Regions from separate parts of the Homo sapiens genome. Here all the other regions are linked to region 4. Evidence: promoter capture Hi-C in human tissues and cell types (Jung and others, 2019). All regions are on one chromosome and are shown on one strand. Each heading gives the region's core, a stretch centred on a gene start or on the middle of the fragment in contact. The rest is flanking DNA. Distances are from core to core; before and after follow the strand shown.

Region 1 (5,504 bases), core at 728-3,227, 190 kb after region 4:
TGGTTTTATGTTTTATCAGTGGGTTTTTCTTTTCAATAGAGAAATGGATTCTTGATTTAGAATTAGGATATATTTAGGCTCTGGATTTTTTAAAAAAAATTCTGAAAGTCTGTTTCATGACACTTGAATGGAATTGTAGACAGTTGGACTGTGGACCTTTTCCAGACTTAGCATCCTTGTTATGAGAGAGGCCTTTTCAGTTTGCACTGAGAAGTTACTCTTACCCTGATGTGATAATCTAATACAAATTTCCAAACTGCTTACATAAAAAGCAGCTTGAATGTGAAAAATGTTGTACACAGTAGGGGTTTGTTTCTCTATGGAAATGCTTTTCCCTTGAATGCCTATATGGTCTAGATTTTTCCAGCATTTCTGAGATTTGGGTATCAAATTGGGGTCATTCGATGTCTATTTAGAATTTTTTAATAATTTCAAATCTCATTTGTGAAATATTGCCTGTGGAAATAAAAGCTAGCTGTATTAGTTTCAAAATGTACCATTAGTCCCTGGAAAGATACTCTATTAAAATTAGTGTACTTCTTTTCCCACAGGCTGTGCTCTTAATCATGTCCTTCCAAAGATGAATAAATACAGTGATTATATTTGGTGACTGTGGAACTGAAAATGAATACATGTATTACTTGGCATTCATGTAGACAAATCCTTGGTCTCACAACACACTGAATTTACTGTTTTTTCCTGGAGGACAGGATAGCTTGTATTCATCTTTGCATCTTTTAGAGTCCTTAGCATTATGCCTGGTACATTGTTTGCTCTCAGTATGTCTGGTGAATAGGTGTATGAATGAATATATCCATCCTTCACTTAAAGAATAAGGGATGTGTGCTGAGTCTAGTAGCCAGAGCTTTTCCATTTCCACATCCTGGCAATGAAAAATAATCAAAATGCATAAAGGACAGATTACAAAAGCAGTTGTGAGGAAAATGTTGTTAAGCTTCAAAGGAATAGGGTATTTCAAGGATAAATATATTAAGAAAGAAAACTTAAGTCAGGTGATGGGTGATATAATTCATATACTAATGTATTGAAAGGCTGGAGGGTTTCTACTTCTACATCTTTGGGGAAAATATTGAAAATAGGTTCCTGAAATATGTGAGACACTGTAAGTGATTTAGACTTTTAAGTCAGCTAGAACTGGTGGAATAATGATATTCTTTACTTGTGTGTCTAAACAATGAATGCTAAAGCCAGATCTTGCTTAAAAGATTCTTAATCAGGGCTGGGCACAGTAGCTCACGCCTATAATCCCAGCACTTTGGGAGGCCGAGGTGGGCGGATCACGAGATCAGGGGATAGAGACCATCCTGGCTAACACAGTGAAACTCTGTCTCTACTAAAAATACAAAAAAGTAGCTGCTGTTGGTGGTGGGCACCTGTAATCCCAGCTACTTGGGAGGCTGAGGCAGGAGAATGGCATGAACCTGGGAGGCGGAGCTTGCAGTGAGCCAGGATCATGCCACTGCACTGCAGCCTGGGCGACAGAGCGGGACTCTGTCTCAAAAAAAAAAAAAAAAAAAAACACCAGATTCTTAATCATAACAAATATAGTATACATTTAAAATGCATGTGTACATGTATATTGAGAATTAAGTTAATGGCACCTCACGTGAATAGTCCCTAAATACTATAAATAAATACCATACCTAAATCCTCAGCATGGCCTTTAAGATCCAGCATGTGGTGGCCCCTGTGCTTTCTGTCTCTCCTAGTTCCTTCTCCCTCTTGTTCACTCTGTGGCCTTTAGTTTCTTCAATTCCTCAAGTTCTTTGCTGTATCAGGAGTTTGTAGCGGCTGTTTCCCCTTCTCCTGGTAGAATATGGGCCCTCATCTGCCCCTTCTTCGACAACTGTCTTCTCACCATCCCTCCTGTCTCAGCTTATGTATCTCGACTCTGAGTGGTGTCTTCTGAGGGCCAAGTCGAAATCATTTCTACTCCAGTTTTATATTTTCATGCTACCTTTATATCACATGAGTTCCCCTCAACAAATCTCTTGAGAAGTTCCTCACTTAGAATAAAATTGAAAGCACTTATGTGGGTTACAAAGTCCTGAGGATCTGAGCTCATTCCTTATGTTCCTGGCTGTCTCCATCTCGCTCCTTCTGAGCTAGCCTTCCTCAAACACACAGGCACTATTGTTCATGGGGCCTGGCCAGCCCCTTTGCTTCAATCACTTCCTCTCCATGTCTTCTCAAAGCCTTCGCTGGGGTCTCTGCTCAAATGTCACCTAATTTGTGCAGCTTTCCTGACCATCTTGTTTAAAACATCAGCCCTTCTAACTTCCTAAGCCTTTTCTTGTTTTACTTTTCTTCAGAGCATTTAGCACCACTTCAGATGTACATTTACTTGTTAAAGTGTTGCTTGTCACTGCTACCGAAATGCAGTGACGCAGTGACTTGAGCACAGGATTGTTTGTACACTGCAAAGAGCCCAATTCTATTCTTTTATTGCACTTTTCATAATATTTACTTTATGCAACTTATGATTTGTTCACTATACTGCCTTTTTCCATTATTACTCTCCTATTTTACATTCTTCACATAGCAGCCAGTTCCATCCATTAAAGATGTAATTCACATCTTGTCACTCCTCTGCTTGTAACTCTCCACTGGCTTCCATTGCACTGAGAATTATCCTCAGACTTGTTCCTGCCTCGGGGTCTTTGCACAGGTGTTTCTTCTGCCTGGAACACTCTTCTCCAGCTCCTGTTAATGTCTGCTGCTCCTCATCACTCCACCTTCAGTCAGATGCCGTCTCCCTGTACAGTCCTTTCCTGCCCCGACCCCTATTGAAAATAGTTTCTCCTCATCCCTCTCATACCTCCTTATATTATTTCCTATCAACATTTGGAATTATCTTCTAATTTATCTTTTTGTTTATTGTTTTCACATCACTCCCATTTCTCATATAGAACGTAATCTCCAGAAGGGTAGAATCTTGTCTGTCTTATTTACTATTCGTAATAATGGAAGTAGTGCCCTCAGTAAATATTTATTGAATGAATGCTGTTCATCTCTTCCAGTATATTGTAAACATAGTCATTGAAGACAAGGACTATGTCTCTTTTACTCCTTTATATATACCCAGTTCCTAGCACAGAGTTTGGTGCTAGCGATTGATTAATTTGCTTAATGAATGAATCAAATCATGTGAAGCATACATAAGCTCCATCTTACGGGAGTAGCTAACTTTTCAGGTAAGTGTCGTGGTCTGCAGACTTTTACAGATCAGTATCAGAGCTGTTCTCTGTGTAATATCTATTTGGTGTCATGTACAATTAGTATATTTCACAATTGCTTTGGGAAAAGTGTGGATGTGCATACTGTCATGTATAAAATCACTGGGCTGAAGCTATTAATAGACATTTGTGTTTATATACATAGATAATAGTTGTATCTATTTTTGAATGAGAAAACTGAAGCTGCAAGGTGATTAGCAATTTGCCCGAACTATACAACAGAACAGCCAGAATCTTTATTCAGATATTACTATCTCCAAGGCACATTCTGTTTTCAAAAAAAAATGTCTTATGCTACAAAGTCTTAAACTACAAAGATACCTCCAGGCTTGGTAAGTGTGGCAAGTGTACTCTAGGGTGACTTGTACAGGTTCACACCCTTATATAATCCCTTCCCGTTGGGTGTAGATGGAACCTGTGACTTGCTGCTAACCAATAAATATGGCAAAGGTAATGGAATCAACTACTCACCACTCCCTTGATAGTGATTACATTATATGGCCAAATCGATGGTGCATCACTCCCATGACCAAGTCACATTATGTGAGACAGTCTTAGCAGACTAATACGAGAGACATTCCCTTCCTTGTCTAGAAGAAGCACACTGCCATGTTATGACAGCCCAAGGAGAGGACCACATGTCAAGGAACTGGGGGTAGTCTCTAGAACCTAAGGGTGGCCACTGGCCAACAGCCAGCGGGAAGCCAGAGCTCTCAATCACACTGCCACAGAGAAGTGAACAGCCCGGACTCAGGAAGACAGCAACCCACGTGAGCCTGGATGCAGACTTCTCCCCTCTCTGGCCTCCACATGGCAAAGCAGTCTGACTCTACATTGTTTGCAGCCTGGCGAGACCCTGAGCATAGGACTCAATTTAGGCATGCCCAGACTTACTTGCAGAAACTGTGAGGTAATGTGTGTTGTTTGAAGCCACTGAGTTTGTGGTACTTTGTTATTCTATGTAGAAAACTAATACAGTGTGGCTGTTCCCAGCCAGAGCTCCTATTTCAAGCATACAACTGTCTGCTGGGGCCATCAGGCTATTTGCCCTGTGGCTTTAGGCTCCTTGGATACCTTACATTGAAGTAGGAGGTAGATTGGGAACACCTGTCACTGTCTTTTCAGCTTAAGATGAGGTCTCCTGAACCCCCCAGGGAGTATAGGTCAGTCCAGTTCCACCAAAGACTGAAGATATCTTTGTGTTTTGAAACATGATAGCAAAGAACACTTGGCACAGTGCCTGACACTTAGTAGGGACTCAAGAAATATTATGCACCTTCCTTTCCTGGGGTACTGCAGCTCAACCTAGGGCATCTCAGATGCTAACCCAGCAGTTCCTCCCTGGGCAAGGTCTTTAGAAATCCCACTGCAGGACCCTTCTTACAATAAGGATATATTATTTACCACCACCCTCTATTTGCTCTGAAAACCTGAGAAAGCAAAGGCTGATGATGTTAGTACACTGAGGGTTGTGTATTTTTCAGATTTCACAAACTGTTTTATGCCCCTGAGGGGGACAGTTGCCTGCTTTGCCAGGGCACTCTGTGAGACCTGTGTTGGCACCTTGCAGCACCCAATCTTGAGGTGGGAGATGTTTGCTGCCCCATGTCACAAGTTCTTAGGGCTGCTGACTGTGTACTACAGCACAGGGTCTTAATATCCCTCCCTGCTGTTTCCTACTTGAGGCATAAGAGAGCTTTGTCACCTTGGAGAGAGGTGTTATATAAATACCATTATTTGGGTTGAGAGTAGCACGATCCAGTGCTAGGGTTGTCTATTTGTGTAAGTCAGTAGGCAAATCTTCCTCTTCCCTTTTCTCAGTGTCTTCTAATAGTTAACTACAAAAGAAACAACATAGATGTGAGTATATTTACCTAAGTTCTCATTACAGTATAACTCTTTCTGTCATTTCGTAATTGTTAGTGTGCAAAACAGCAGAGCACATTGGTATCAGTGCAGAGAGCATCAGAGGGCCACGTTTCAGACTTGTAGATGCTCTGAGACTTCACCTAAGAAAACCAGGCCATAATATGCAATAATCACATGTTGCCAAAATGAAATGCATGCTAAGATGCTATTTATTACATAAATTTTGTTGGAAGTATTAAGCCCCAAATCTTATTTAGTGTGATTTGAGGATTTATACTCATCTTACAATTGTAATCTCTATATTAGACTTCACAAATTTAGTTAAAATAATTTAGAATTAATTTTTCTTATTTTTCATAGTAAAACATGCATAACATG
Region 2 (5,013 bases), core at 300-2,799, 220 kb after region 4:
TCCTTCATTATTTTACTCAAGGTGGAGTACATTATTTTTGTATGCCATAGCTCCAGTGCACTGCATATATTTATGTATGCAACAGTTTACCTTACCAAGTATAAATTACAAAATTTTTTACATAATCTCATTTAGTAGCCACAGTAGTAATGTGAAGTAAGTCCTACTGTTACATCCAATTTCAGACAGTGAAACTGAGAGCGAAGTACCATGTGCAAGGTCACAGAAAGTAAAAACTTGAACTCAGTGTTTTATATTATTCCGTTTTCACCACATTACAGCAGTTTTCCAGAGGCTGGGGTTATCATTTTAAAGAGTGATAACCGAACTGTTACTTAAAAGCATTCTCCATGTAATTCACCATACTTTTTCAGATATGCAAAGGTTTTAAAGTGCTCAGATGAGAGAATTCTTGCCATGCTGTGTTATTAACCTACATCATTATATTCTTCTTAAGTCATTGTCCCTCCTATTTCTGGGCATTATCACGAAGGCAAACTATAATGAACTGTGTTGTATGTATCACAAGAATAGATGTGACTGTTTTTCATACTGGAAACAGAAACAGGAATATGCAGCAACTTCCAAAGGTCCGAGAAAGCTTCTGAGGATTGGTAGAGGGCAAGATGCCCAGTGCAGTGGACACTAAGGTCCAGTAGCAAGAAGAAGCTTCAACAGGAAGAGGAATGAGGGAGGAAAGACGGGGAGCAGCAAGCCAGGTGGGTACAGCAGGCAGCAGATTCTGTGAGTTAAATACCCCTTATCCTTTTGTGTTCTTCTCTTCTCTCCTGCTCTTACTCCCAGGTGTCCAAATGGATCAGCCCTGCTGCCGAGCTCTGTACGACTTTGAACCTGAAAATGAAGGGGAGTTGGGATTTAAAGAGGGCGATATCATCACACTCACTAACCAAATTGATGAGAACTGGTATGAGGGGATGCTGCATGGCCATTCAGGCTTCTTCCCCATCAATTATGTGGAAATTCTGGTTGCCCTGCCCCATTAGGATGTTATGCTGGCTGGCTCGCCTCCTCTTGACCCAGATAGTTACGGTTAACCACTGCTTTGGCAATGCTGCTTATAACACATCCCAAGTGCAGGCCGCAGTGGTCCACGTCATCCAGCCCCACCAAGTGACTTTGGTTGACTTGTGGGCTCCCACAGGAGTCATGGTGATGGATGATATCCTCTTAGCCTGGTGGGCGTGGCATGTGCTTTTTAAAACATCATCTGAGACCAGCCAGTAGTCACAGAACTGCTGTTTACACAGTTCTCAGGAGGCTGTGGTTTCTTAGAATATGACCATGAGCCATTTCACAGAAAAACCATCCCACCGAAGATATTGTCTATCACCCCAGGGGCCATCTGAAGGTCTCTTTGCATTTCTCCATGCAAAGAGGAGAAAGCTTTTGCTTTCACACTGTCCCTTCCCAAATATGTGAGTCATGGAATTGTCAAAGTAAGCCTTCCCTCACCAGCAAATTGTCTCCTGATCTGAATGAATTTGTCTCTTAATGCATCCATAGAAAAGTGTTAATTGTGGGTTCAAAGCATTCTCTGCAAATAGGCATCTCAGCTCCTCACACTTATGGCTATTTCTGACGTATAGCCAGTTTTCTTCCCTCCTTGCTATTAAAGCCAGAGCGGTAATTCCAAATTATTTTTCAGTAAGACAGTTAATCAGCATTATTGTGAGAGGGACTGAAAAGAAATTCTCCATTATGAGGAATTGGGAAGAAATCTGGTATCCAAGCTTAAATTTCTTGCTATACAGAAACTATGTATGTATTTAGGCTATTTCTGAAGGGCACAGGGAAGGGGGAACAAATATCTTCACTTCAGTTTTATTTGTGAATTACATGTTTCATGAATCCATTTGGCACAGAGACACAAGGAAGAAAACACTAGTAACCATCTTTCCACTAGTTCATATACTGAGAAACAGTAAATACCTTTCCTTTCCACTTTTACCCTGTGTTCTTTGAACATCATTTGTGCAGATTCTGCCCTCAATGAGGACCAAATAAAGATGATTTTTGTGCTTAGCAGTTTAAGGTATATGGCTGCATATGCAAAACTCTTTCCCAATTCAGTCGCTACTTTTACTTCTGCCCTTTCTATCCATCGTCTTCATTTTGTGTGTACAGTGCTGTGTGTAAGCTTATCAGTGTGTTTTTTTATTTGTATCAGTCATGAAAGTCCTGTTAGGTATGCAGAGTTCTATTTATCTAGCTGTACAGACTCTTTCAGAGGTTTAACGTGCTGCTTCCGATGTGCCACCTGCAGTAGTGGATCATGTGGAGTGAAAGGCAAATCTTACTGCTTAATGTATAAACTCTCACCACAGGAAGCATCGCTGTTTCCAATAAATATTGCTGAAGACAGAACCAAAGGCTCTGCTCCTTCATTTTGTGTCAGTTCTTTGGGTCTAACACTGGGTGGATGGGGGCTGGTTTCAGTCTCCATTGCTTTCTCATGCAGCCAAACAAGACCTGGCTCCAACTTCATATCTACCTCTTTACACATAGGAAAAGTTTCAGCAGCAAGGAAGTAGCTAGCCTGGACATTGGGACCTTCCTGGTAACCCCAGGAAGGAGGAGAATTTGGGAGAGAAGAAAGTAAGGAGAATTAGGTCTCATAGATGTTAAATGATATATTGTTAAAAGTGGTATCATCTGAAGAATATAATGTTAGGAAGGGGAAATAAAATATATCCCTTCGAGTAGCCTCTTATTTTCTTTCGTAATTGAAGATAAAGAAATAGACATGGAAAAATAGTTTGATCGAAAGTCACTATTAGGCCAGGTGCAGTGGCTCACACCTGTAATCCCAGCACTTTGAGAGGCCAGTGCAGGTGGATCAACTGAGGTCAGGAGTTCGAGACCAGCCTGGCCAACATGGAAAAATCTCGTCTCTGCTAAAAATACAAAAATCAGCTGGGCATGGTGGTGCATGCCTGTAGTCTCAGCTACTCAGAAGACTGAGGCACGAGAATCACTTGAACCTGGGAGGCAGAGGTTGCAGTAAGCCGAGATCACGCCACAGCACTCCAGCCTAGGGTGACAGAGTAAGATGCTGCCTCCAAAAAAAAAAAAAAAAAAAAAAAAAAGGCCAGTATTATTTTCTCTTGATGTATATGTTTGGGGTGTGAGTGGGAATAGGGGAGCAGCAAGGCACACAAAATGTGTATTTTCTGAGTTCCCAGGAAAATAAACATGTTCTTTGTGTATTAGGGGCCATTTCTATTATTTTGTGCTGAGGCCAATAGTCCAGATTTTCTAATCTAACATGAATAGTTGTAATTAAATATACTAAGTTTCTGTTAGTCCATTTTCATACTGCTATGAAGAAATACCCGAGACTGGGTAATTTATAAAGGAAGAGGTTTAATGGACTCGCAGTTCCACTTGGCTGGGGAGGCCTCACAATCATGGTGGAAGGTGAAGGAGGAACAAATGTACGTCTTATATGGTGACAGGCAAGAGAGCATGTGCAGGGAAATTGCCTTTTATGAAACCATCAGATCTCATGAGACTTATTCACTATCACGAGAACAGCATGGGAAAACCCACCCCCATGATTCAATTACCAATTACCTCCCACCTGGTCCCTCCCACAACATGTGGGGATTATGGGAACTACAATTGAAGATGAGATTTGTGTGGAGACACAGCCAAACGATATCAAAGTTCTATATGTGAACTAGTCTAACGTGAAAATATTTTTTTCTAGCTGTATGAGTTCTAGAGTATTACAGATCAGTTCTCTAAAGCAATTTTAAGAAATACCAATGATATTGTGACTATAGAAAATCATAAAGAATCCAAAGATAAACTATTAGAAAAATCAGTGAATTTAATAGGATCACTAGATATGAGGAATATACAAAAATCTATTTCTATATATCAATAGCAATCAGAAAAAATGTAATTTAAAAAAATGTCATTCACAAAGGCATCAGAAATCAAAACCAGCCGGGCCCGGTGGCTCACGCCTGTAATCCCAGCACTTTTGGAGGCCGAGGCGGGTGGATCACGAGGTCAGGAGATCGAGATCATCCTCGCTAACACAGTGAAACCCTATCTGTACTAAAAATACAAAAAATTAGCCGGGTGTGGTGGCGAGTGCCTGCAGTTGCAGCTACTCAGGAGGCTGAGGTAGGAGAATGGCCTGAACCCAGGAGGCGGAGCTTGCAATGAGCCAAGATCACGCCACTACACTCCAGCCTGGGTGACAGAGCGAGACTCCGTCTCAAAAAAAAAAAAAAAAAATCAAAACCATAGATACAAATCTAACAAGATTGTACCTGATCTCTGCATAGAAAATTATGGAACATATTTGAGAAAGCAATTGAAAGATATTCTGTGTTTTTAGATTGGAAAACTCAGTCTTGTAAAGGTATCATTTTCCTCCAAATCTAGCTGTTTATTAAGTGCGATTTCAACCAGAAATCTTAGGAAGTTTGTTTCCATGTGTTCGAGAACTGACAAGTTCAACTTTTAAGCCTGTCATAAAATTTTTGTGGAAAAGAAAAAAGATGTTTTTTCTCAAAGAAGAACAAAGTTGGAGGACTCTTTCTAGATATAAAACATTAAAAAGTTACAGTAATTAAGGTAGTATGGTTTTGATACAAAGATAGCAGAATAGATTGTATATACAGAATAGCGAGTCCAGAAAGAGACATAGATGCATTCGACCATATTTGAAGGAAAAGCATTCCATTATGTTTAATGTGATGCACTCATATCAACTGAACCTTTTTAATATCAGTTCCATAACCCCAAAGTGAAAACAGCAAGACTTTGTGCCAAATACAGTAATCTCACTATGAGTCAATGTCACATGAAACAAGTGTCATGACCACAGATTCCAGGAAGAACTTACTCTTGATTTAAGGAAGAGTTTTGGAGACCATTACTAATGCACTCACCAGATACAGGACTGTTTGAATTCTTTATTTTTATTGAGGTATAGTTAATACCTTAGTACAAAACCTTATGTATGGAAATTACTCA
Region 3 (4,899 bases), core at 995-3,494, 240 kb after region 4:
AAAAAGAAAAAAAAAAGGAAAAGCTTGTCCTTCAGTGTTCCTGAGTCTCTCACCTTCTCTGCTGCTCCCTGCCTGTTTTGGGTCCCCTCCTCCTATCTTCCTTATTTCCACAAGAGCCTCCTAATTGCAGTCCCTGCACCCGCCACCTGTCTTACCCAGTCCTTCTTTTTTAGAAACTCCTGTTGTGATCTTTTGAAATCGTAGGTTTGATAACATCACTGTTCTTCTCCAAAATTTTGCCCCTATTGTGTACAGAATAAAGCCTGAACATTAAAGTCCTTCATCATCTGGGCCCAATTGCCTTTTAAATTTGCATCTTCTCCCATCCCATCTTTCAACCCTCTGTTCTATGGACAATATACACCCTCAGGATTCCTTTAGTACCAATGTGAATTCAAGGCTTTGCTCTTCTCTGTGCTGTTGCTTCTGTTTGGAATGCTCTTTCTTTTTTCCCTAGGAAACTCCTTACAGATCCTCCAATGCTCAGCTCAAAGCACCTCCTCTGTAAGATCTTATACCACTTCCCCATGTCATTTCCTCTCTATGAGGTCATAGCAGTTTCTAAAACTTCACATGCCATTATCCTAAGCAAATTAAGGCAGAACAGAAATAGATACTGTATTTTCCTACTTGTGAGTGGGAGCTAAATACTCGGTATGCAGGGACACAGAGATGGGAACAATAGGCACTGGGTATTCTGAAAAGGAAGAGGGAGGCAGGCAAGGGTTGAAGAACTACCTAATGGATACCTCATTTACTACTTGGGCAACAGCAACAGGATCATTAGAAGCCCAAACCTCAGCATCTTGCAATACACCCATGTAACAAACCTGCCTTTACCCTCTGAATCTAAAAACAAAACAAAATATCATGTGCGTCTATTATAGTGCAGAAGCTAATAACTAAAGCTGTTATTAAGGGATTTCTATGTGTCAGGGACTCCTTTAAGCTTTTTCTATGTATAATAATATGAATCTATGTCTTCCACTCGAGACTACTTGAGGATCAAGTTTTGCTTACATTCTGTAATGTTTCAGGGCTTAGTAATATACCAGAGGTATAATTCATGCTTATGCATTGTCCACTGAGTAAAGACCCAAAGATTTTGTTTTTGCCTTTGCTGGTTCTCAAGCACCTCCTGATGGTTGTTAGAATTCCCATAAGAATTCTGAGAAGACTTAAAAAAAAAGTCCTTTTTCACTAAGATGAAGTTTGGGGATGCCTCACTTTATAAACCATGGGCTATGCCTCAATTCACCACAGAGGATAAATCAAATTACCTCCTCTCCTATCAAGAGCACTTCTCATTTCTGACATTAATCGTAGATGTAACATGTTTTAGATAATAAGATGAAATGTAATTAATTTGCTCTACATGTTGTAAAGTTCTATTCACATATGTGCTAAATAAAGAACTCAGATTTGTCTTACCTTTCCCTTCTCCCTTGTGCAATTTAATGGTTTAGGAGTTCTGGTATAAAAATAAAGAGCAAGTGGAACATTTTCCCTTCACTCTGAAAAGTTTCAAGGGTCACTAGGAATTTCTATACACTCTGAATTAAGAAAACTACAAATATAAGAAACTGTATGGGTTCAGCTTTGTTCTGATGCTGCTTTGGACTCAGAAGGGTGGAACATCTGCAAACACCTGCTTGGTCCTATATCTGCAGGGGGAAGAGGCTAATCTAAATGCTACCATGGGAGCTCAGGGGTGTAAAAGAATGCTCTTTTCATGAGAGAAAGAGTGAAAAAAAATGTAGGCAGTTAGATGATTGATTGATAGATAAGTGTACAGTCAGACCCTTTGATACCTGGATTAAGACTCTTACACAATATCGGGGGGGAACCACAGTTAATGCCTGCTTCTGACTGAAGTCCTCTGAACAGGCAGAGACATCCTCCTGACAACCAGGATGGCATAATCTAGTTCAGGATCTGGGGAAAAGCTATTTTGAATGTAAAACTGGGTACAGGTGGTACCATTCCAGTGTCTTACGTGAAGATCCCAGGAAAGTTGGACCTAAGTTTTCCTCAAGAGGGCAGACTAAAATACAACCAGGGGCATATGCCGGTCCTGCAGCCTAATAAATAGCCCCAAAGACTGGTGTAAAAAGAAGGCTTTTCCATCAACTACAGAAGAGGAAAATAGTGGTGGACAAAAATCAGCAGCAGCTACCAAAGGAAGCTCCCAGTGGGCAAGCAAAAAAAAAAAAAAAAAAAAAAAAAAAGACATCTGTGGAGCCAGGAGCACTTCATTGACCACTTTGAGGAAAGTGAGACCTGACGTGGGATGAGAGAGGTGTCTAAGGGAAACCGGAGTTGGGTTTCTTATTTAAGGATTAAGGAAGCATAGGAAATGTGGAAAAGCACAAAACCACTAAAAAACTTCTCCATGAGTGTGTGCTGCCCAGCCATTTTGCCTAGATTGGTCATACTGACTGATCTGGGGTGGGGTGTGTGTGTGTGTGTGTGTGTGTGTGTGTGTGTGTGTGTGTGTGTGTGTGCGCGCGCGCACGCACGTATACATTGGGAGACGGTATTACGGTATAGCAGAAGCATTTTCTTTATGGTGGTTGCTGTGTTGTACTATGGTTTGTTGTTTGGTGTTTCTCTCTCTTGCCAGATTGTGAACTAGGTGGGAGAAAGCAGCATGCATCATTCCTTGTTGTACTGCTAGAACCTAACTCAGAACGTGGACTGCTGATTTATCCATAAATCTTGGTGAATGAACTAATTTATGAATGAATCAGTGGATAAATGGATCAAGCTGTGGTTTGGCTTTCTTTCACTGAAGGCTGACTCCATATGCTTCCATATGCTGCTTTCTAAAAAATATTTCAGTCATCTCTGAGAAAGTTTACCACTAGCATAATCTGCATTTTAAAGGTGGAGGACTAAGAATATTTTCTTATCTATGCAGGCATGGCTGGAAAGAACAGATTCATGGTTAACAGTCTCTTTCAGTGGGTGTGAGACAAAGACTTGTGCCTCCAAATGCACTCTGCAGATTCAGCCCAGCCTCCCAGAGCTCTAATAAAGGGCCAAAGCACCATTGTCCTCTAATTCAACTCTTTCATCCAATAGTTAACATGATTTTCAGGCTGTGGGAATAGGTAGGCCAAAGGCAGCATGAAGGAATGCATGTTCAGGAAACATGCAACAATTTATTGTGTGGAATCATGGGCATCTATATGAAATTCAGTACAGAACAAGCAGGTTACCAGTGTGTTATTTTGTTTATTCTGCTTTGTTTTATTTTAAACTTATATTCATCATCATCATCACCATTGAAACGCTCGTAATAGCAACTTAAGTTTCAAATAAGCAAACCCCAAAACAAGCAAACTCATAAGAGTATTCAAGAACAGAAAGCTGATGGAGATAGTTTCCACACTCAGGCCCAGTCTCCGTATGGATGGAAACCAAAGGAAGAGAGCTTGGGAGAAATGTCTTTTCATGATGAGCATCCTTGTATTTCCTGAGTAACTTGCAGATAACTTACGGCTACAGATGGGCTGTGGAGAGTTCCTGAATGGGACCTCTGTTGGCAAAAACAAAAATATAAAAACCTTATTTCTAGGATAGTTATAAATTAGTTAACAAGCGTTTTTGATTCCAAAATAATGAAAACATTTTATCATGCTTCAGTTATTTTAGCATGTGCTACAGTGAAATTGTCTTGGTCCACAGCTGTTTTTCAGCTCTTTACAGTTACTCTACTATACCAAGTTGCTCTGAAAGTAACTATGTTTAAGTGATTTAATTATGATGCTTAAGGTTTCTATGTGTTTTCAAGTCTTTAACATCTAAGCTTTTAGGAAACACTGTGGGACTTGCATCTTGTGGAGAAAGATTTATAGGTGATTAGGGTACCCAGGAACTTCAGACCCCATCTTGCCCCAGCTCTGATCCCCCTGAAACTGAGACAGGAGAGGATAAGGATGGGTAAAGGGCCTGCTGGGGCCTAACCCAGTGTCTGGCTTAGCCAGCTTCCATGGACTCTGAGAGTCTCTCTCCCCTGGAGTGCAGTAGCCTAAGGTCTGGTTCCATAGCAAAAGGAAAGACTTCCTGGACTCTGTTTACCCAGGCCCACACTGAAATCTCAGGTCTCTGAAGTTTACCCTTCAGAGGGAAGAGGAGAAAATCCAAGGAAAGGTATTCCATGAAAGAGAAAGGGCTGAATGATGCAGAAGCTTTATAAGCAAGAGATCCTCATTCACCTGAAGAAGCCTGTTGAGTCAGCTCACCATCTAAGAAGTCCCCAGTGCTGCCAGAGTGGTGGGAGCTAACAGAGACAAAAAAAGAGGAAAAATATGCCACCAGAAAATAAGCAGGAAAGAATTCTGCCTTCATCTGACTTTTTCATAAACACGGTGTTGTTCCTGAACTTACATTCTTGTAAATAAGAGAAAGAATTTATATCATCTAATCAATTATTACCATAGTTGGTGTTGTATTCATAATGCACTGGGTATAGTTTTTTATGAAATATGCTTTATAGGAATAAATTATGTGGAAACAGCCAAATGTTGTTGCACAGTTATTGAATCAGTCAGCATGTATTAAACTTGTTTTAACCTGTGGCTACCCAAACCTGGCTAATCATTGCAAACACCTGGAGAGCTTTCTGGTTGGCCGTTAGAAATCTGTAATTTCCAAAGTTACCAGGTCTTTCTGATGGTCAGCCAGATTTGAGAACTGCATCATGCCATGTTGTGCCTTTCTCCATGTTCACCTTCTGTATCCCAACTCTTCTTTAGGCCCATTCTCTAAATACCTGATCAAGCGAAGTACTCTCTGTTTTCTGATCACTTATAGAATACATGTATTACCTTTTATTCTTAGTCATCTTTTGAAGTTTATAAATCTGGTTTCCTACTTGTGAGTGAGAATATGCAG
Region 4 (4,977 bases), core at 998-3,497:
CTGACTTCCACAATGGTTGAACTAGACACTCCTGTTTTTAAAACCATCAGATCTTGTAAGACTCATTCACTACCACGAGAACAGTGTAGGAAAGACCCACCCCCATAATTCAATCACTCCCACTGGGTTCCTCCCACGACACGTGGGAATTGTGAGAGTTACAATTCAAGATGAGATTTGGGTGGGGACACAGCCAAACCATATAAGATGAGGTGCAGAGGATGCCTGGGCGACTAAATCAATGGTTTCCAAAGGATTTAATGTAATGCCCTTAAGTAGTTTTTTTCTCCCAAGGTAGTTTCTTTGAAGTTAAGCAGCATGAGACTTCCAGGTTGGTGGATGAAGAACCAGGGAAAGATAGAAACTGCCTTTTTTATAATGTAGGGCTCAGTTAAGTATTCAAAGTTCCAAGGAGGCAATTCAGGCCCCCATTTCACACCTTTCACTGTTAGAGAGCAGAGCTCCTATCCATCCCAGGCCCTTCCACTTTGTAGATCAATTGCTCTATCTTTTGGCAGCTTCAACAAAGCCCTGTCTTATGAAAATGCTTTATTGTTCAGATCAGGGACCTGGTAGTAAAAATTAACTATAAAATACTTTTTTTTCTATTATGCAAGTAATGGGTAGCCTTTTTAAAAATTGGAAACATAGAGAAAAAAGTTTATTCCTAACAACCGGAGCCTCAGTGGATTAAAATTACTCAGGTTTCTCACTGATGCTACATGCCCATTGAACGTCAGGTGGGGACTCTGCACTGCTTTAGTCTCACTCTGGATACTGGCTGACAGACCACAGCTTTCTAGAATATTGCGGCCGAGGAAAAGAAAGCTTTGCGGCATCTCATACATCTCATATTGCTGCTGCAGAAGTGACAGTCACTTTTCCTCTTAAACCTCTAGTCAAAACTTGTAACCATGCCTCCACTTAACAAGAGGTTTGGAAAGTGCAATTCTGCCATGTAGGGAAAGGTATATGAACAGTGGTAAGGGCTACCACACTGGAGAATAGCTCCTTTCATCTGCCTCCCTTTGCAGCCTGCGTCCCTAGTCCATGCGCTCTACTGCTCCAGTGCCCACCACTGCTTGACTCTGCCTTTGTGTGTGTCAGTTCACATTATCAAGAAGGACCATGACTGGTAGCTCTACGGATGGAGGACCCTTTTGTAGCAGGTGTTCACCCTGTGCCCAAGCCGCAGTGCCTAGAAGAGTGGGGATGGGTCTGTGGCTCCTATCAGGCTGCAGGAGTTGCGGAGACAGAAAAAGTATTTCTAGGACTCCCATTTGGCCTTGCAGTCTCTACACATCCTTGGCAATTTCTCCCATCTTGGCTTCTCCTTCTTATCACTTTGGTCCACATACGGGGACAGCGTCTAAGTTCTTTCTGACCACCTCCTCAGTCCTAGAAAAACCAGACTTGGTTAAGTACCAGAGCACAGAAGGCATTTAGTGCTGCTCTGCTCCCAAGTCATCTATTAGTTTCACTTTAGCCAGCCATACCTCCTTGGTTACATATGAAGCATCTGTATATAACTTAGTATCATGCTTTTTCACATTATATTTTGATTTTTATCGGACCGGAAACCCTAAATCCACAAGCATAACAACAAGATCACATTTGGGCTTTTTCATTTCTGTAACCAGAGGATTGAACGCTAGTTTTGTAGTAAGACTTCAATTCTATTTATCCGTCCAGGCTTAAGGGTTCCTGTTCTTCTTTTTAAGTCATTAAATTGTATCAGACAAGGGGGAAAACGCGTGTGTGACTTTCCCTAAGGTAAGATGGGCTTAAGGGATATTGAAACCAGGGCAGAGAAATGTTTTCTGTGACCCACCAGTCAGGGCAAGGCATAGAAGGAGCAATGACTTATTCATTAGCCCAGATAGAAGGCCAGTCTTTTTCAGGCTGCGGCGCAGAGACGCCAGGCTCAAAGGGCAGGAGGGCCGTCTGCAGGCAGCGCCGCCGCGGCTACCTGGAAGCCCAGCAAGTCACCTGAGTCCTGCGGGTGCCTGGGCTGCCAATCTGCAGCGACCCGTCCGCAGCCCCCGGGGGCAGGAACACCAACCCCGGGACAGGAGGACGTCCTCGGCCCGCTGACTAGGGATCCGCCAGCGGGTGCCGCTGAGCCACATCCCCGCAGTTGGCGCCAGCATCCAGGTACCGCGCGCCACAGCACCTGCCTGGGCGTTCCCGCGCTTGGGGCGGGGCTTCCCGCGTCCCCTTTAAGAGGCCGCATCACCCGCCCTTGACGTCAGAGTGTTTCTCCGCAAGAGCCCGTGTCCCGCTAGGCTCCGCGCCCTCGCGCCCATAGCCCCGGCGGCGGCACGACCAGAGGCGGCCAGGGGAGCGCGCCGCCCCGCTCGGCCCTCCAGTCCCCCTCCGCCTCCTCCCTCCCGCACAGCAGCCGCCAGCGCGGCCTCCTGCACCATGTCGGTGGCCGGCCTCAAGAAGCAGTTCCATAAAGCCACTCAGGTAAGGCGCGCGGCAGGTGCGTCCCGGGGCAGTCCGGGGCGAAGCTGCGAGGGGCGCGCTCGGCGCTGGCCGTCCGGCGGCAGCTTGGGGAGTTCGGCACCGAGCCTCGCCCGCGCCGGCCGCGCCCCGCCTCGCAAGCCAAGGCGGCGGCTCGGGGCATCCCCGGTCTGGGCGTCCACCCTCGGTCCCCCGCCCCCGGCTTGGTGCGCGCTGCCTTCCCGCGGGTCCCCGGCGTCCTGCCTGGTAGCGCTGCTCGCCGCCCCCGCATCATCTCGCGCCCGTGCTGCAGGAAGGGGACCGCGGCTGCACTGCTGCCGCGGCGCGCAGGTGCCTTGGCGGCGCGGTGGGAGATTATGTAAAGTCGCCTCTTCACGGGTGACCTTGCGGAGTCGGTGCACCCGGCTTTCCCGGGATGTGTTGGCATGAGCGGTGGCCGCACTGGGGGTGGCGGGGCGGAGGCCGGCGGTTTGCGCTCCTCTCCCTTACCCTGTTGTCAGAACCCTCCTTCCCCGCCGCCCGCAGGCTCCAGGGGAATGGAAGGCTGGGGTCTTCCTTTAGGGACCCGCATACATTAACTTTTACCTGGAGAACTCGGTCGTGAAACTCCTTTGAGGCCAGGGCATGACAAACAGTCTGCGGGTCTTAAATATTTCCCTAAAACAACCAAATTGTTGAAGACTTAAAATCATCATGTATTTTAAATTGTTTTTAATAAATCTTTGGCATCTTGGATGTGCCCATTTTTCTTTATGGGGTTAATAAGCTGTGACTGTAATAAAACTGATTAATTTAGATTCTAATAATTAAAATCATTGGACTCAAAGAATTTTACATAGGGGCAAGTAAGCGAATACTTACGCTGTGACCTATTTCTTACATAATGTGTGTGATTACTACTTTTTTATCCTTCTGAAATAGGTTCAAATTTATGGGATCTTTAAGGATTTTGATGACTTACCGCGAAATGTTTTTCATGATTTGGTGTTAAATAGTTTTTCATAGGTTAGCCTTAATTAACGAGCTTTCTCATAATTTCTCGGAAGTAGTGAGGTTTTTCCTAGGCTACCACAGTGGCAGCCTTGTTATGAACCACATCCAGAAAAGGTGAGGGTTGTGTTTTACAGAACCTTGGTTAACTTAGGGTGACAGATGCAGCATGTAATTCCCGTCGTGTGTGTGTTTGCACGCATCTGCATCATCTTCATCACACATTCTTGCCTTTATAGAATCAATTATACCTGTCAACTTAGGAAATCAAGAAAAGTAAGACTATTTCTGTAAAAATGTTTCTTAATGTAATTATTTTTGCTTTTCTATTATAATTGGAGTTATCTGTGACCTCTCTGCCAGACATGTTTATGAAAGTAAGTGATTTGTTTGTTGATGTAGTTTGGAAGGCTTCTAATAACTTTATACTGCAAGTTCTTTCAGGTTTACAGAACCAAGCATATGTGCTGCCCAGGAATTCTGTGGCAGGACTTCTTCGATATTACTAACCTTTTTGATTGCTCTACTGGTCACTTCTCTATAGCATATCTCAGCACTGCGTTTACCAACACATCTTTTTTCCACTTGGATTCTAAAGATTTCTTTTGCAAAGCTTAGTGCCCTCAAAGGCAATTAAGAGTCTTGGCTTTGGAGTGGGAAAGGCTAAGGTTTGAATCCTGCCTCTGCTGCTTCTGACCTTGAGAGAGTATTTAACTTCTGAACCTGTCCATGCTGAAGTGATGATAATTTCCGTTGTCTCTTCAGGGTTGAGGTGAAGAGAAACGAGTGTGTAGAACACACGTATAAAGTGTTCAATAAATTATAGTTATTGACATAAAGGATATTTTTATTAGTATAAAATACTATCCCTTATGCTGTGAAGAAGTTACCCAAGCTAGACCTTTTAGTTTTTCCAACTTAAAAAATAGAGCGCTCCATTTCCGCTAAATCTTGAAGTTCTGTGTCGCCCTAAAGTGTAGAAAAAATAATTTAAACTGCGTTAGGAAAGAACTTAAAAGGTTGGAGAAGGTCGGCATGTGATGCGATACGGTTAATGTTTATCACACCGAATCCAAATGCAGAATCACTGCGTCATTGTCTTCCTTTTACTGAAAAGCCTTTTATTTGAAAGGTGAAGCAGCACGTAGTCTCTTATCCATAATTTAGTGTAGCACACTCTTAGAAAGTCTAAGGCACAGGTGACTGTTCTGTGCATATGTATATTTAGGAGAGTATGTAAAGCCCATGTTAATGTTTGCATGTGACAAAAAAATTAGAGAAATAGTCCTGTCCTACTTTTGTAGCCATTTTTTTCCATCAGGTCCGTGAACCTGATGTTATCTACAGAGAAGCTTTAGACCTAGAATTACTTCCTTTTGAGAACTGATGTGCTGGATAATATAGCCTGGGTTTGTTTGTTTGTTTATTTATTTATTCATTTGAGACAAAGTTTGACTCTTGTCGCCCAGGCAGGAGTGCAATGGCGTGATCTCAGCATACTGCAACCTCTGCCTCCTGTGT

The links. Contacts are between HindIII fragments. The study calls those that stand out against the background at their distance.
Region 1: a contact is called between a fragment that was not itself captured here and the fragment with the promoter of SH3GL2 in region 4, in 2 of the 25 tissues and cell types used here (H1 embryonic stem cells and hippocampus).
Region 2: a fragment that was not itself captured here is called in contact with the fragment with the promoter of SH3GL2 in region 4 in 3 of the 25 tissues and cell types used here (H1 embryonic stem cells, dorsolateral prefrontal cortex and mesenchymal stem cells).
Region 3: a fragment that was not itself captured here is called in contact with the fragment with the promoter of SH3GL2 in region 4 in 3 of the 25 tissues and cell types used here (H1 embryonic stem cells, dorsolateral prefrontal cortex and thymus).

What each region holds. Positions count from the first base shown.
Region 1 is chr9:17,766,852-17,772,355 of GRCh38, forward strand. The region is part of intron 3 of SH3GL2 (SH3 domain containing GRB2 like 2, endophilin A1); the gene reads left to right. Among named protein-coding and RNA genes, the nearest start is that of SH3GL2, 190 kb to the left of the region's middle. The HindIII fragment of the contact is 3,552 bases long and covers 202-3,753 here.
Region 2 is chr9:17,794,740-17,799,752 of GRCh38, forward strand. SH3GL2 (SH3 domain containing GRB2 like 2, endophilin A1) reads left to right here. Exons shown (of 9, transcript NM_003026.5): 9 at 805-2,385. The coding sequence ends at 1,004. Among named protein-coding and RNA genes, the nearest start is that of SH3GL2, 220 kb to the left of the region's middle. The HindIII fragment of the contact is 5,161 bases long and covers 1-4,130 here.
Region 3 is chr9:17,813,887-17,818,785 of GRCh38, forward strand. No RefSeq gene overlaps it. Among named protein-coding and RNA genes, the nearest start is that of SH3GL2, 240 kb to the left of the region's middle. The HindIII fragment of the contact is 3,516 bases long and covers 487-4,002 here.
Region 4 is chr9:17,576,819-17,581,795 of GRCh38, forward strand. It overlaps SH3GL2 (SH3 domain containing GRB2 like 2, endophilin A1), which reads left to right and starts at 2,248. Exons shown (of 9, transcript NM_003026.5): 1 at 2,248-2,469. The coding sequence starts at 2,425. RefSeq lists a silencer at 1,060-1,258. The HindIII fragment of the contact is 4,711 bases long and covers 1-4,438 here.